Regions from separate parts of the Homo sapiens genome. Here all the other regions are linked to region 1. Evidence: promoter capture Hi-C in 16 types of primary human blood cells and fetal thymus (Javierre and others, 2016). All regions are on one chromosome and are shown on one strand. The core of a region is centred on a gene start or on the middle of the fragment in contact, and the rest is flanking DNA. Distances in the headings are between cores, read along the strand shown. Region 1 holds the start of HES7 (hes family bHLH transcription factor 7). Region 2 has its middle 6.9 kb from the start of CHD3. Region 3 holds the start of LOC124900396 (small nucleolar RNA SNORA69).

Evidence for each region. Contacts are between HindIII fragments. The CHiCAGO score rates a contact against its expected background, and 5 or more counts as called.
Region 2: a contact is called between a fragment that was not itself captured here and the fragment with the promoter of HES7 in region 1, in 1 of 17 cell types (monocytes). The highest score is 5.6, in monocytes.
Region 3: a fragment that was not itself captured here is called in contact with the fragment with the promoter of HES7 in region 1 in 2 of 17 cell types (erythroblasts and megakaryocytes); the score reaches 5.7 in erythroblasts.

The regions. Positions count from the first base shown.
Region 1 is chr17:8,122,243-8,126,717 of GRCh38, forward strand. HES7 (hes family bHLH transcription factor 7) reads right to left here and starts at 1,864. Exons shown (of 4, transcript NM_001165967.2): 1 at 1,801-1,864; 2 at 789-884; 3 at 101-188. The coding sequence starts at 1,842. TRG-GCC2-6 (tRNA-Gly (anticodon GCC) 2-6) reads left to right here and starts at 3,504; the gene lies at 3,504-3,574. RefSeq lists enhancers at 1,722-2,242, 3,519-4,320, 4,133-4,192 and silencers at 3,383-3,432, 3,543-3,592, 4,273-4,462. The HindIII fragment of the contact is 4,110 bases long and covers 755-4,475 here.
Region 2 is chr17:7,879,657-7,884,131 of GRCh38, forward strand. It overlaps a transcript of NAA38 not described here. Among named protein-coding and RNA genes, the nearest start is that of CHD3, 6.9 kb to the right of the region's middle. The HindIII fragment of the contact is 3,311 bases long and covers 878-4,188 here.
Region 3 is chr17:8,325,280-8,329,754 of GRCh38, forward strand. It overlaps LOC124900396 (small nucleolar RNA SNORA69), which reads left to right and starts at 4,304; the gene lies at 4,304-4,440. The HindIII fragment of the contact is 1,610 bases long and covers 1,505-3,114 here.

The sequences.
Region 1 (4,475 bases), core at 614-3,113:
CCAAGCCCACCATCCACCGCAGGGCCCGCCCACTCTGCCCCGGCCGGAGCCTCCTGGCGTCCCCCCTCCCTCCCTCCGCTGCCCCACCCCCGCGCTGTACCCGGGGGCTCCACCCGGCTTCGCTCCCTCAAGTAGCCCACGGCGAACTCCAATATCTCCGCTTTCTCCAGCTTCGGGTTCCGGAGGTTCTACAGACGGGAGGGGAGGGCGCAGAGACAGAAAGGGGTGGGGAGAAAGGGGGAAAGTGGCAGGGGGAAGAAGGGAGGGACGGATGCGGGAGCTGGTGGTGCCCCCGATCGCATTTGCGCACTGCCCACAGAACGCGCGACCAAATGCGGAGTGGAGATGACCAAGGAAAGTCCTGGCCCACCCTGAGACGAAACTGTCCAATCCTAGGGGTTGGAACCAATGCCCAACGCGTGAGGAGGAGATTTGAAACCGCAACCCAGGGAATGAAATTAACCACCCGACATAACAGAGGCTGGCTCATCAGAGGCTGGCTGTGGGGGAGGGGGAACCGGACACTTAGAGACCCAAAGGGTGAAACTGACCGACCCCGGGAGCGAAATTTACAGAACCAGGCGTGAAACTTACAGACCCGAGGGGTGGCGAAGAAGATCGCGTTCTGAGAGCGAGTGGGGGTCTGGGATGGAATTCCAAAGGCGGGACTCGGGTGAGGATGCCTTGGGGCCAGGGTTGCCAACCAAGCTTGTGTCCCCACCCCAGTGGGAAGCCCTGGGACGCGGAAACGGGAAGCTTGGGGACCTAGGGCTAGCGGAGGGACTGACCTGGTCCCGGGTCCGCTCCAGCAGCAGCAGCCTCAGCTCTTCCAGGCTGCGGTTGATGCGGTCCCGGCGCCGCTTCTCCACAAGCGGCTTGAGCATCTGCGACCAGCGAGAAAAGGAGAGCGGGCCGACCAGACCGAGACTCAGTGCGGCCGCCCCGGCGTCGGATCCCGCCGCTGGGAGAGCCCGGCTTCCACCCCGGCCACAAGACCCCAGATTGCCTAGGGCCGGCCCCATTCGATCCCTCTCCGCTCCCCCTCCCAATGCCCCTAGATCAGTTTCTGTAGCTCGCCTCCCCGGATCTTCGCATTCTCCTCTCTCAGTCTCGTCCTCCCTCCTCCCCTCTCTGTGTCTCTCCTCCTCTTTTCTCTCTACGTCTCCGTCTGGTGCAGTTTCTCTTTGTCTCAGTGGAGAACTTTGGGGACTCTCTGCGCGCACGCACGTGCGCCGCACGGTGCCGGGCTCAGACCTGGCGGCCCTGAGTATAGAAAGGGAGATACCTAGCGCGACCGCGCCGCCTCTTTTCCCTCAAAACCCTCCAGGCCTTCACCTTCTCCACGGTTCTCCTAAAATCTTCCACCAGTCTGGGGCCTCTGGAACCAACGCCCCGGGACCTTCTGTACAAGACCGCCTTGGGCCAGCCCCGCCCGGCTCACAGCCAGAGTGGAGCAAGTGCCTATCCTCTTCTCTTTTCGTTCCCACCCTCCTCCCTTGGCTCTGCCCTCTAATTGCTTATTTTACTCCAACACCGGCCCCCTCCCCAGGCCACAAGGTGCCGACACCCATTACCGAGGCCCCTAGTCCTATGTTCCCGCCGCCCACTCAGGTCTGGCTCTGACCCCTGTCCCCTTCTTCATATTTTGCAGCTTCCTCTCCAGCTTCTGGCTCCTGGAGTTCTGGAGCACCGCTCCCCTTCCACCCCTGCGTCCCCAGCCTCTCTCCAGACCGACGGCGTCAGGGGCCCAGTCCCCTAGCCAAACCAGGGACCTCTGCTCCCTCCCCTCCCGCCTCTCACCTTGGGGCCGTCCCTATTCTCAGCTCGATCCCGGGTGACCATTGCTCCTCCGGACCCTGTGTGGACCGGTTCCCTGCTCGCCTGGAGCCTTATATTCCGCGGCCCAAGGGTAGGAGGGATAGGACCCGACCCCGCCCCCTTCGACATCCAGATTCTGCCCCTCTAGGACCCGGCACGAGGCTCCCGGAAAGAGGAGGAGTGAAGGGGGGAGGGGAAGGAGAGAAACTGGCCTGGGAGTGCGGGAAGTGAGGGGTGAATGGGGGCACTGGCTGGTTTACAGACCGTAAGGCTGTATAAGGAGGCGGGACCCAGCTGAAAGGAGGAGGCTATTGGGGCAGAGCTCGCTTGGGGATGAAATTCAGAGTTCCTCCAGAATTGCAGCTTTCTGGGAGGCTTACTGTACCCTCACTAACCCTGAAATAGAAGTTAGCACCTCTCAGCCCCCAGGCTGAATTTTATACATCATCTCCGAAGTTCGCTTCCTAGTCGAGACAGGGAGCAACCCGAGTGCGCTGGGTGAATCTGTCCGACTCAACCGAAGCTCTGCCGGGAGGTTGGAGAGGCGCTCTCTTCTATCTAAGCCAGTTACATTCAAGTCCGCGAACATCTGCGCGCCCACTCTGCGGACAGGGCACTTGTCTAGGCTCGGGCGAGTCATAGTGAGATACGCAGGAGAGACCCAGCTTATCCCTGCAGGATCTAATGGAAAAGACCATGTGACACCAAGTAGCTATTACAGAAGCCCAGTGAAGTAGGTGCTCCGGGAAAAGGTCTCCTTAAGGATGGCTGGACTGAGGAGGATCTTCAAGGCAGAGGGAGCAAGTCTTTGAAACATAGGTATGAGTGGAGAGGTCTTTCCACTTACAGTACAAGTATTTGATTCAAAACTAGTCATAGGAGATTCAGGAGTGTGGCTGATAGGACACCTCACGCAAGTGTGCCCGCATTGCTTGCTTCTGGAGGCCCCTGGTGACTGTAGGGTAGCAGGGAGCAGGCAGTTTACTAAGGGGAAAGCAAGGGGTACAAAAAAGGGATCAACACCCACCTCAAACCAAGAGCATGACCCTCCGCAGAACGATGCCTGACCACTCGAGGGCTTCAGGACAAAGTGTCTGAGAAGATAAATCAGAAACTGAAGGGAACAGCCAGGTTGCCAGGGATAAAGACACGGAAAGACAGGGTTGCAGACCGAGACGGAAGACAGCTGTGAAATCAGAGACCAATGGGGTTTCCTTCAAGCCCTCCCAACGGCCCTCCGCACCTTGGTTTTGTCACGAAGCCTTTCTTGCCATCATAGCCCGAGCCGGGAGAGGCACAGACCTTGAGGAGGGGGCTCCCATTTGGGATCAGGGCCCCCAGCACATCCCACCTCTCCGTCCTTCAGCCAAATGGGAACGCAAATGTGTGTCCCCATCAGCCCCCGCCGCCCCCCTCCTTGGGAACCTGGGCTCGGGCTGAATTTTTCTCACCTGCACGCGAGGCTGGGGGCCCCCGGCTGTTCGCACCCGGGTGTGGGGCCGCCCCTGGCCATATGGGGCGGCTTTATGGCCCGGTGGCCGGATCCGGACGAGAGGAAGGATGACTTGGCGCTCCACCCACGGCAACCATTCGGGACCACTTCCCTGGCCTACACCGTTGCCTGTCCGGGTCCGCCTCAACCTCTTACAATCTCAGATAGGATCCCCGCAGAATCTTTAAGCCGCGCATTGGTGGTTCAGTGGTAGAATTCTCGCCTGCCACGCGGGAGGCCCGGGTTCGATTCCCGGCCAATGCACGAGTACAGTTTTCTTTTCTCCCCTCCAAAAAAAGGATAATATATTTGGTAGCATTTCTAAGAAACATCTTCACTTAAATATTTCTACCAAATATTAATCTTAACCTTTTGACTATAGCAGAGTTTGCAGCCCCAGGCCTAAACGATTCCGCACGCCCTCGCACTCCCCTCCTCCCAGCATGGGGGTCCTGCAGCCTCCACACCCCCCTCCCTCCGTCCCCGGCCCGCACCTCCGCAGGCGTGACCCTGAGAAAGGACACAGTGCTCGGATCTCGGCCCCCCGCGGGGGAAGGGCCAGGTCTCCCCGCCCCCCACTCTACATCCCTTGTTCTTTCCACCTCTCTTCCTCTGTTATTTTCCGTTCTCTCTGAAGCACGCTTTCTTTTCTTAAGTCTATGGGTCTATGCCTTTTTTGTCTCGCCTCCTTTCCGGGTCTCTGAGTGTCTCTTAGCTCCTCCATCTCTGTATCTCTCACGTTTTTTCCAGATCTTCAGCGACTTCTGCCCTGGGTCTCTCTGGTGTTGGTGGTCTCCTCCCTCCGCATCTCTGATTCCGCGTCTCTCCGCGTCTTGGCGTCTGCATCTCCGCCTCTGGCTCTCTCGGGTCTCTGGTATCTCGTCGTCTCTCCGAGTCTCTGTCGCCTCCCGGGACTCTGCGCTCCCACGCTCCTGCCATCCCCTGGGAAGCTCGCTGACACTTCCAGGTTCCTGCCACCTCCCCTCCCCGCCCCTTCCCGGCCGCTTTGATCCCGCACGCGTCGGCCCGAGGGCGGGCGGGTGGGCGCACAGCCACCTGCGGCGACCACTTGTGAGCGGGGCGGGGCGGGCCGGCTGGGCGGGGCGGCGGGGCTCCCCGCGGTCCGCTCCCTTCCGGCGCGCTCCGCCTCCCACCGCTCGCCTCC
Region 2 (4,475 bases), core at 1,283-3,782, 240 kb before region 1:
CTCCTGTACCCATTAATCATAAGGAATTTAAATTTTTTATTTAATTTTTATTTTTTGAAGTACTGAAAGACAGAAGAAGGCAGAGACTGATGCCCCACAATGAAAGTGACAGGCAGGGAGACAAGCAGCTAGACAGTGAGACACACAGGCATAGATAAAAGGCCTAACGACAGAGAGACTACACAGGCAAAAGAAATATAGAGAAACCTGGAAACACAGAAGGAGAGATGCAAGAACTGAGCAGACAGAGAAGAGGGATGGCAGAAAAATAGGCTGGCAGGGAGGGAATGGAGATTGACTGACAGAGAAGGCAGGCAAAATCACCAAAAGGGATGCAGACAGGCAAACAGAGAGAGAGAGAAAGAGAGAAGAAGGGAAGACAGATAAAGGAAGAAAAAATAAGGTAAGAAGGAAGACAAAGTGATAATGGTGTTTTATACAACATAGTGCTTTATAATTTATAAAGTGCTATCACATACATTACTGCAGGCAGACAGGGAGAATCCAGCAGACAGATGGGGTGATGGAAGGATACAGGCCAATCAGACAGAAGAGAGGGGAGAGGGCCAATCAGAAAAAGAGGCTAGAATAGAGATCAAGACAGACAGATAAGAAGAAAGAACCAAGAAAAGAGAAGTAAGAGAGGGAAAGAGGGAAAGAGTGGAGAGACACAAAGATAGAGGCTGAAACAGTTAAACTCAGGAAAACAGGCAGTAAAAAAGCAGAAATGAAAGAACAGTGCATTGTGTGTAGAAGTTTTATTATCATCTTTTTCAAAGAGACCTGGTTAGAGGTTGTGTCTTTGTCTCCTTCAAAGAGTTATAAAATGTCTCTAAGGTGGCATGTGAGTGGAGCCAGAAGGCTTTAATCAGGAGAAAGCTTTTTAGACTAGGAGGAAGACAAACTTCTTAGGCCTAGGTCGACAACCTAAAGGATCTGGATTCACATGACCTTACAGAATTCATATAGACTAAGTGAGAAAGCAGGGCAGTCCTCTACCTACTCTGTGTGCATGTAAGCTCAGCTTACTGTTACTTATTAACAGTGCCTATATTTATAGGGTACTTTTTAGTACTACCGGTGCTTTCATGCCTTCTCCAATACACATTTCAGTGATGAAGCGACCAACAAAGATGTCTTGCTGGCATCAGACCACTTACCATGCAGAGTAGACTACATTTGGAGAGAGTAAAGCCTTCCTGAGCACTCCTCAAGTACTGGTAGTGAACGCATGCAACCAGTAACTAGTCAATCCAAAAGACACGTGCTTTGGGTAACACTTGGTAGAATCAAAAAGACCAGAGATGGCAAGCCCAGCCAAGTTAGTTAGGAGTACTGACAGACTGACAGAGGAAGGAGCATCCAGAAAAACTGGAAGAAAAGTAGGGAGGAGTACAGCAAAACACAAGCAAAAGCAAGCAAGCAAAAAGACTTGTATATGTGTAGACTTTTCTCTGGAGCAGTATCCAGGAAATGTGAAACAGTGGCTGCTTCTGAGGAGAGGAACTCCGGGACTAGGGGAGAAGGATGGGAGACAGGTTTACTTTTCACAGTACACTTTCTGTACTTTTAAAATGTTGTACCATAAGTATGTACTACCTATTTAGAAGTTAACTGGAAAAAGAAACAAAAGAAGAGAGAAAAGCAAGAAGAGACGTGGACAGCAAGAGCCTGCCAAGCAGACAGCAAAAAGGCAGGAAGGCAGCGAGAGACTGGGAAAATGGCAAAAAGACTGAGACAGGCAGACTGTCTGAGGAACCAGAAAGACAGAAAAAGAGATAACTGAAATAAAGGCAAACGTGAGAGAAGGCAGGGTAGGGGATGTGGCAAGAAGTTAGATAAGACTTTGAGGCAAAGGGGTTACTGAGAGGTTTAGGGGAGAGAGACTATCCTCATTGATGGAAGTTGGCAGAGAAGAAGCAAAGGAAGAAAAAGCTGGTAAGTATGAAGACTAAAGAGAGAAAAGCCTGAAACGGTGGGATAGCAGCAAACAGGGTAGACAGGCAAGAGAGATCTAAAGGGAGGCAAGGGAAAAGGAGGAACTTAACAGGCACAAATAAGAGAAGGAACAAGCAGAAGGGCAAGAGAAGAGGCAAACCAAGATGGGGAGCCGTGGCAGGGCCTGGAAGGTAGACAAACCGAGAGATGCAGGCTAAAAAAGTGATAGAGACAGGCAGGCGGGGAGACAGATGGCTAGAGAGAGAGTGGTGGGCAAACAGCCAGAGAAGCAGACAGACAACCAGAGAGGAAAAAGAGGCTGCCAGCCAGTCAGGGAGGAGCAGACAGGCAGGCAGGCAGACACCATAACAGGAGCAAGCAGGTAAAGAGGCAGAAATAAGGAGAGAAGAAGAAAAATCAAGAGGTCAGGAGAGAGAGAGAGAGAACAGAAAGAGATGCAGACAGGCAAAAGGGAGGATGGATGAGAGGGAGAATAAGGCAAATTAGCAAATCCACATGCAAAGCACACTCAAGAGAGAGAATGATGAGTGTTTGTATAGGGATGCACACGGCCACCTTTAGCCACCCGCACCTGCAGATCATGGCACATGTGGCAAGCAGAGGCTCTCAGTATAGGGAGAGGGCACAGAGGCAGAGAGGCTGCGGCGCACATGATGCGCAGTGTGGCCCACATACACGTGGAGACACTTCCCATACACAGTATGATCCACAGACACACACAGAAGGGGCCAGAAAGAGGGGGAGTCAGGCACACATGAGGAAGAGCCACACACAGTCAGAGACTGGAAGACAGAAGTAAGCAGAAAGAAGACAGAGATGGAAAGTCACGTAGAGGTGACAGAGCCTGAGGGTCCAAGGGATGAGAAGGATAGTCTCAGTTAAAAACAAAGACATAAATAGAGAGAAGCCCACAATATAGAAAGGGGGGGATAACCAGATGAACTAGTAAAGAGGGACAGAGAAAGAAGACAAGAGAGCAAAATCGACAGGAAAACTGGAAAAGGAGGAGGAGTTAGACTTAGTACAGAAATGATGTGGGAACCAAAGCAAGAGAATTCCAAAGGCCAGGTTAAAAAAAAAAGAGATGGAAACCAACACCCAATAAAGTGCATTAGTGTGGGGAGTGGAACATTAATAAAGAACATTTTAGCTTCATAAACAAAAATGTGCGTCATCTTCCCAGTCACTAATACTTTCTGGTTGCTGCCCACCTACCCCTCCCTCTCAGGGTGCTCCTGAGCACCGCCGAAGATGGGTGGCCAGCAGTTACACTGGAGAGGTAGAGGAATAACCCAGAGAGAAATGATTCCACAGGCATGGAATGGGAAGCAAGGGAAGGGGCAAAGGGAGATCAAAGGAATGGGAGGAAGCTAGAGTAAGAAAGGGTCAACAAGAATGAAAGAGGGTAGAACTGAGCTATTTGCCCTCCTTCCTTTGCTCCATTTGGCAAGGATCATTTTCTGTCTAGACCTCTCTGGGCAAATCTCTGTATGAGAAAGCTACTTTGGGACTCCTTTCCAACTGTCCAATTCCTGGTACCACTTTACCATAAACACTGGGGTACAGTTGGAAATCACAGGTCAGAAAGTTAGATGAAAACGCCTGGGTATAACCCCTACCTCTGCTTTTTCTCAGTTCCAGCTCCTTTCTCTTTCACGGTACCTCAGTTGCTTCTACTTTATCGGATAGTGTTGGAGATCATGGAGGGAAGGCAAATATACTGAAACGGAAGAAAAGAGAACATAATTTCACGATCTTCAGATTTGACTCTTTCCTCTTTATCCTAAAAATTTGTTGTTTACCCCCCAAATTAATTTCTCAAGTCAGTTGAATTTTACATTCTAACAATTGGAGGAGGGGAAAGCGAGGGAAAGGGGAAAAGAGTAAAGATAAAATTTATAACAATTATAAATCACTGAAAAGGCTGGGTAAAGGGGAGAATCAAACATGGACTCCTTTGAAAAAAACTCAATCATCGTATCTATTCATATCTCTCCCCCAAAAGTCACTAGGATTTCTATCACTTTTTTTAAAGAAAGCAGAAAAAAATCCAGTCCCGCTTCTCATTTAAAAGATATGTACACAATTAAATGCGTTGTGACTTCAATGAGGTATGTAGAAACAGAGTTATATATAAACATATATTTCATCTTTTTCCTTTTCAATGCCTGAAGGGGAAAAAAACCTTCACATCAAACCACTCCCTTCTGAAGTATTCAAAAAAAAAAAAGCTTTTCTTTAGAGAAGGGAGGTGGGGAGGAAGAGACTAGTAAAGAAAATAAAAAAAATTAAATCTAGTTGGACTAGTATCTAACTAGTTAACCTTTAACAATTTATGCTGATGTCAGACTGAGCATGAGTACTGATTAATGCCCCCCCTCAAATATTTTTTATAAGGGGGGAGTTAGTCACAGCAGCCATTTTTGTTTTATGCAGAAATCCTTCATGCCCCCCCAACACACACACACACACACACACACTTCAGTACACAAGGAAAATATCTCTATTAATCTGTG
Region 3 (4,475 bases), core at 1,060-3,559, 200 kb after region 1:
CATTTCCACAGGCTCAGGAAAGGTGCAGGCGTCCCCGGGGGGAGATGCCTGAGGCGACAGGGTGGGAAAGCTGGCCCCAGTTGGGGACCTTTCTCTGAGTCAGTGTGGACACTCTTCACCCGTGGCCCTGCTCCTCATAGCTGAAGCCTCCATATTCTGGGAGTCAATTGTCAACCTAAAAGGAAGAGGCTGAGGCACAAAATATGGTTGAAAGAGTTTACTTGAGCCCAAGGGGGCCGGGCATGGTGGCTCACGCCTGTAATCCCAACACTTTGGGAGGTCGAGGCAGGTGGATCACCTGAGGTCATGACTTTGAGACCAGCTTGGCCAACATGGTGAAACCCCGTCTCCACTAAAAATACAAAAAATTAGCCGGGTGTCGTGGTGCCCGCCTGTAATCCCAGCCACTCGGGAGGCTGAGGCAGGAGGATCCTTTGAACCCAGGAGACAGTGGTTGCAGTGAGCCAAGATCGCGTGATTGCACTCCAGCCTGGGTGACAAGAGCGAGACTCTGTCTCAAAAAACAAAAAACAAACGAAAGACAAAGGGAGGACGGCTGCCAGGAAGACTCAGACCCAAGTAACCTTGGATATGAGCTCCATTAGGGCTTTGTTACAAGCAGGTTTTCAAAGGCAAAAAAGGGGGACAGGGAGTGGGCTGTGGGCTGATACAAAGTTGTTAGGAATTCTCATTGGTTTAAAGGAAGCTCTTTGATTAGTGATTGGCTATATACTGTTAAGCTATAGGGGGTGGGTTATAGTGTCCAGTGTGGCATTACCAGGTTAATTCATAGCTACTTATGGCAAGAGCAAGCCAATGCAAGCAGTTAAAGAGGTGAATACCTAGCTCAAAGGGGGTAATGGGATGTCACTGTTGTCTCATTTTAATTCCTCTCTGGCCCTGATTTTTTTTTTTTTTTTTGTCACAAGATTTGGCTTTGTCACCCAGGCGGGAGTGCAGTGGCACGATCTTGGCTCACTGCAGCCTCGAGCTCCTGGGCTCAAGCGATCCTCCTGCCTCAGCTTCCTGAGTAGCTGGGACCACAGGCAGGAGCCAACACACCCGACTAATTTCTGTATTTTTTGTAGAGACGGCGTTTTGCCATGTTGCCCAGGCTGGTCTGGAACTCCTGGGCTCAAGCGATCCTCTCTATGGGCCTGATAATTTTAAAAGCCTTGCCCCCCTCAGATAAAAAGTTTTTCTTTTCCTACAAGATAAGGCAGATAGTAAAGGGCACGGGCCTCTCTTTGAGCTGGCCTTCTGTGGGCTCCGGGTCAAGATCTTAGTGGCCAACATCGCAGATAAACGGGGGTGGGGGTTGCAATCATGCCCACAAGCAACAGAGGAAAGAGAGGAGCCTCGCCCTCTTCCCCCCACGCCCCGGCCCCCAAGCCTGCTCACTAGCTCTCTCCTCCTCCTTCCACCCGCAAGGAACCCTCCAGCCCACTTCCTGTGATCCTTTCCGGAGCCCTTCAGCCTGGCTGGCTCTCCAGCCATCTCGGAAAGCTTCTCTTTCCTAAACCCTCCATACTCGCAGGTTCAGCTACAGAGGTAACTGCAGGCTCAGGTTCTCCAGGGTGGCCAGCCCACCAGCCCACCGTCCCGGTGCAGCAGTGCCTCTCCAGCGACAGCTCCACCGCGAGCCTGGCGGGCTCCCGACCTTGCTCCCCAGCACGTCGTCTCCAAGCCACGGTCTCACCACCCTCCATCAGCCTCGGGCGACACCAAGGGGAACAGAGCGCTGGAGCTCCTCGAAGTCCTCCCGACCTTAGCGGGGCTCCGTTCATCCTCCCGGACGTGGCCAGGCCCCGCTCTGGCCCCGCGCCCGCCCCTCCCGCGGGGCTGCCCCTGTCTCTCTGCCGGAGACCCGGACTCAGTGAGTGAGCGCAGCGCGGCCATAGGGCTTCCTGCAGCGGGGTCTCAGCACGTCTTCTGGCTGGACTCTGGGGTCTCCTGGCCTGGCTGTGTCTCCTGGTTCTCAGCGCTCGCCTCCCACGCGGGGCGGAGTATGGGAGTGGGCTGCTCCCGCGGAAGAATCCTGGGGAAGTTGAGGCACTGGCTCCCGCTGTTCAGAACACTGCCCGACGTCCCCAGAGCTAGCCACTCCTCCTTCCCACCCACCCGCAGCACTCTCGAGGTCGCAACGGCAGTCACCAGGTCCCGGGGCCTGCGTTCAGCTGCTTGATCCGACTAGGTTTGGCTTCGGACCCGAATGGGTCAGCTCCACGCCCGATGGAGTTTTTCAAGCTGGTGCCTGCACGTGCCCCCGCCGCGGGGCATGAAGCCGTGGGCTGCGCCCAAACTGCCTCACAACCACCGCTGACCCGAAGCCTCTCTCACTCCGTCCACTGTTAGAAACCTGAAGCTGCCCTCTGTGAGAAAGCGTTGGGATTGAATCCAGACTTTTGGGGAACCTTAACAATAAAGAATACAAAATATTGACTAAAAATTGGATTTGAAAGTGACCCTGAGTTGTTGTTGTTGTTTTTGTTTTAGACGGAGTCTCACACTGTCACCCAGTCTAGAGTGCAGTGGCGTGACCTCGGCTCACCGCAACCTTCGCCTCCTGGGTTCAAGCGATTCTCCTGCCTCAGCCTCCCGAGTAGCTGGGACTACAGGCGTGCGCCACCACACTCGGCTAATTTTTTATATTTTTAGTAGAGACGGGGCTTCACCATATGGCCAGGCTGGTTTTGAACCCTTGACCTCATGATCTACCCCCATCGACCTCCCAAAGTGCTGGGATTACAGGGGAGGCACTGCGCCCAGCTACTCTTCCTTGATTTACGACAACCCTTGGTTATTGTGATTGGGTCGAGATGGGTATGTGTCCCAATTTGGATCAATGAGTTCAGAGACAGTTAATTCGAGACCCACCCAAGAGCCACTTGAATGAGCCATTCTCTCTTCCCCTGGACATTGCAGTGTGAGGATATAAGGTTTGGATCAGTGGCTGCCATTTTAGTGCAGTGAGAGGCAGCTTGGAGTTGCTGGGGAGGCCACTGGATACAGCCTGATGAAGGAGCCAACACCACAAAACTGGAAATGGAGAGACAAGGGGAAAGCCAGGTCCTTGTTATCATCACTTGAGTTCCAGGATCAAGTCTCATCTGAAGCTTTTATCTTGATTTTTCAGTTATTTTTGTTTGTTTGTTTGTTTGAGGCAGGATCTCGCACTGTTGCCCAGGCTGGAAGGAAGTGGCACGATCTCGGCCCACTGCAACCCTCTGCCTCCTAGGTTCAAGCTATTCTCATACTTCAGCCTCTCTAGTAGCTGGGACTACAGGCATGCGCCACCATGCCCAGCTAATTTTTTTTTTTTTTTTTTTTTTTTAGATGGAGTCACACTCTGTCACCCAGGCTGGAGTGCAATGGCATGATCTTGGCTCACTGCAACCTCTGCCTCCTGGGTTCAAGTGATTCTGTTGTCTCAGCCTCCTGAGTAGCTGGGATTGCAGGCGCCTGCGATCATGCCCCACTAATTTTTGTATTTTTAGTAGAAATGAAGTTTCACCATGTTGGCCAGGCTGGTCTCAAACTCCTGACCTCAGGCGATCTGCCCGCCTGGGCCTTACAAAGTGCTGGGATTACAGGCACGAGCCACTGAGACCAGCCTGGATTTTTCAGTTCTATAGGTCATTAAATTCCCTTTATCCCTTAAACCAGTTTGAATCTCCTTTCTTTTATTAGCTACAGAGTCCTAACTGATTCAGATAATCCACAATACAATTGTACTCTTAGCTATTCCAGAGAGGCCATTTATCTCACTGGCAGCTCTTCCTCTCCTGTGTGCCTTCCTGTTCAGACTCTGTGGATCACGCAATGAATTCCCAAATGGTAGGATGCAAATCTGAGGTGGGCAGGTCCACCTCAAGTCGGCCTGCTTGTTACAATAGGTAACTTCGCCAAAGTTGCTTCAATTTGGTCCTCATCATGGCTTGCCATTTTATTTAAGACGAGACCAGGCCGGGCGCGGTGGCTCACGCCTGTAATCCCAGCACTTTGGGAGGCCGAGGCGGGTGGATCACTTGAGGTCAGGAGTTCGAGACCAGCCTGACCAGTATGGTGAAATCCCGTCTCTACTAAAAATACAAAAATTAGTTTGGTGTGGTGGCACATGCCTGCAATCCCAGCTCCTTGGGAGGCTGAGGCAGGAGAATCGCTTGAACCCGGGAGGCGGAGTTTGCAGTGAGGCAACATGGCACCACTGCACTCCAGCCTGGGCAACAAGAGTGAAACGCTGTCTCAAAAAAAAAAAAAAAAAAAAAAAAGACTAGATTGGGCATTTAGAATGTCAGAGTGAAAAGCAAGCTGGAATTACAGTGCTTCATTTTGTGAAATACTAAATACCATCATTATGCTGCTGAAAGAAAAGCTGTTTTAATGATTTTTGATTTGTCTTTGTGAGAGTAAAATCACGACAGATTGACATGGACAATTCTAAGGAAAAAATAAATAAAAGAATACCAGAATGA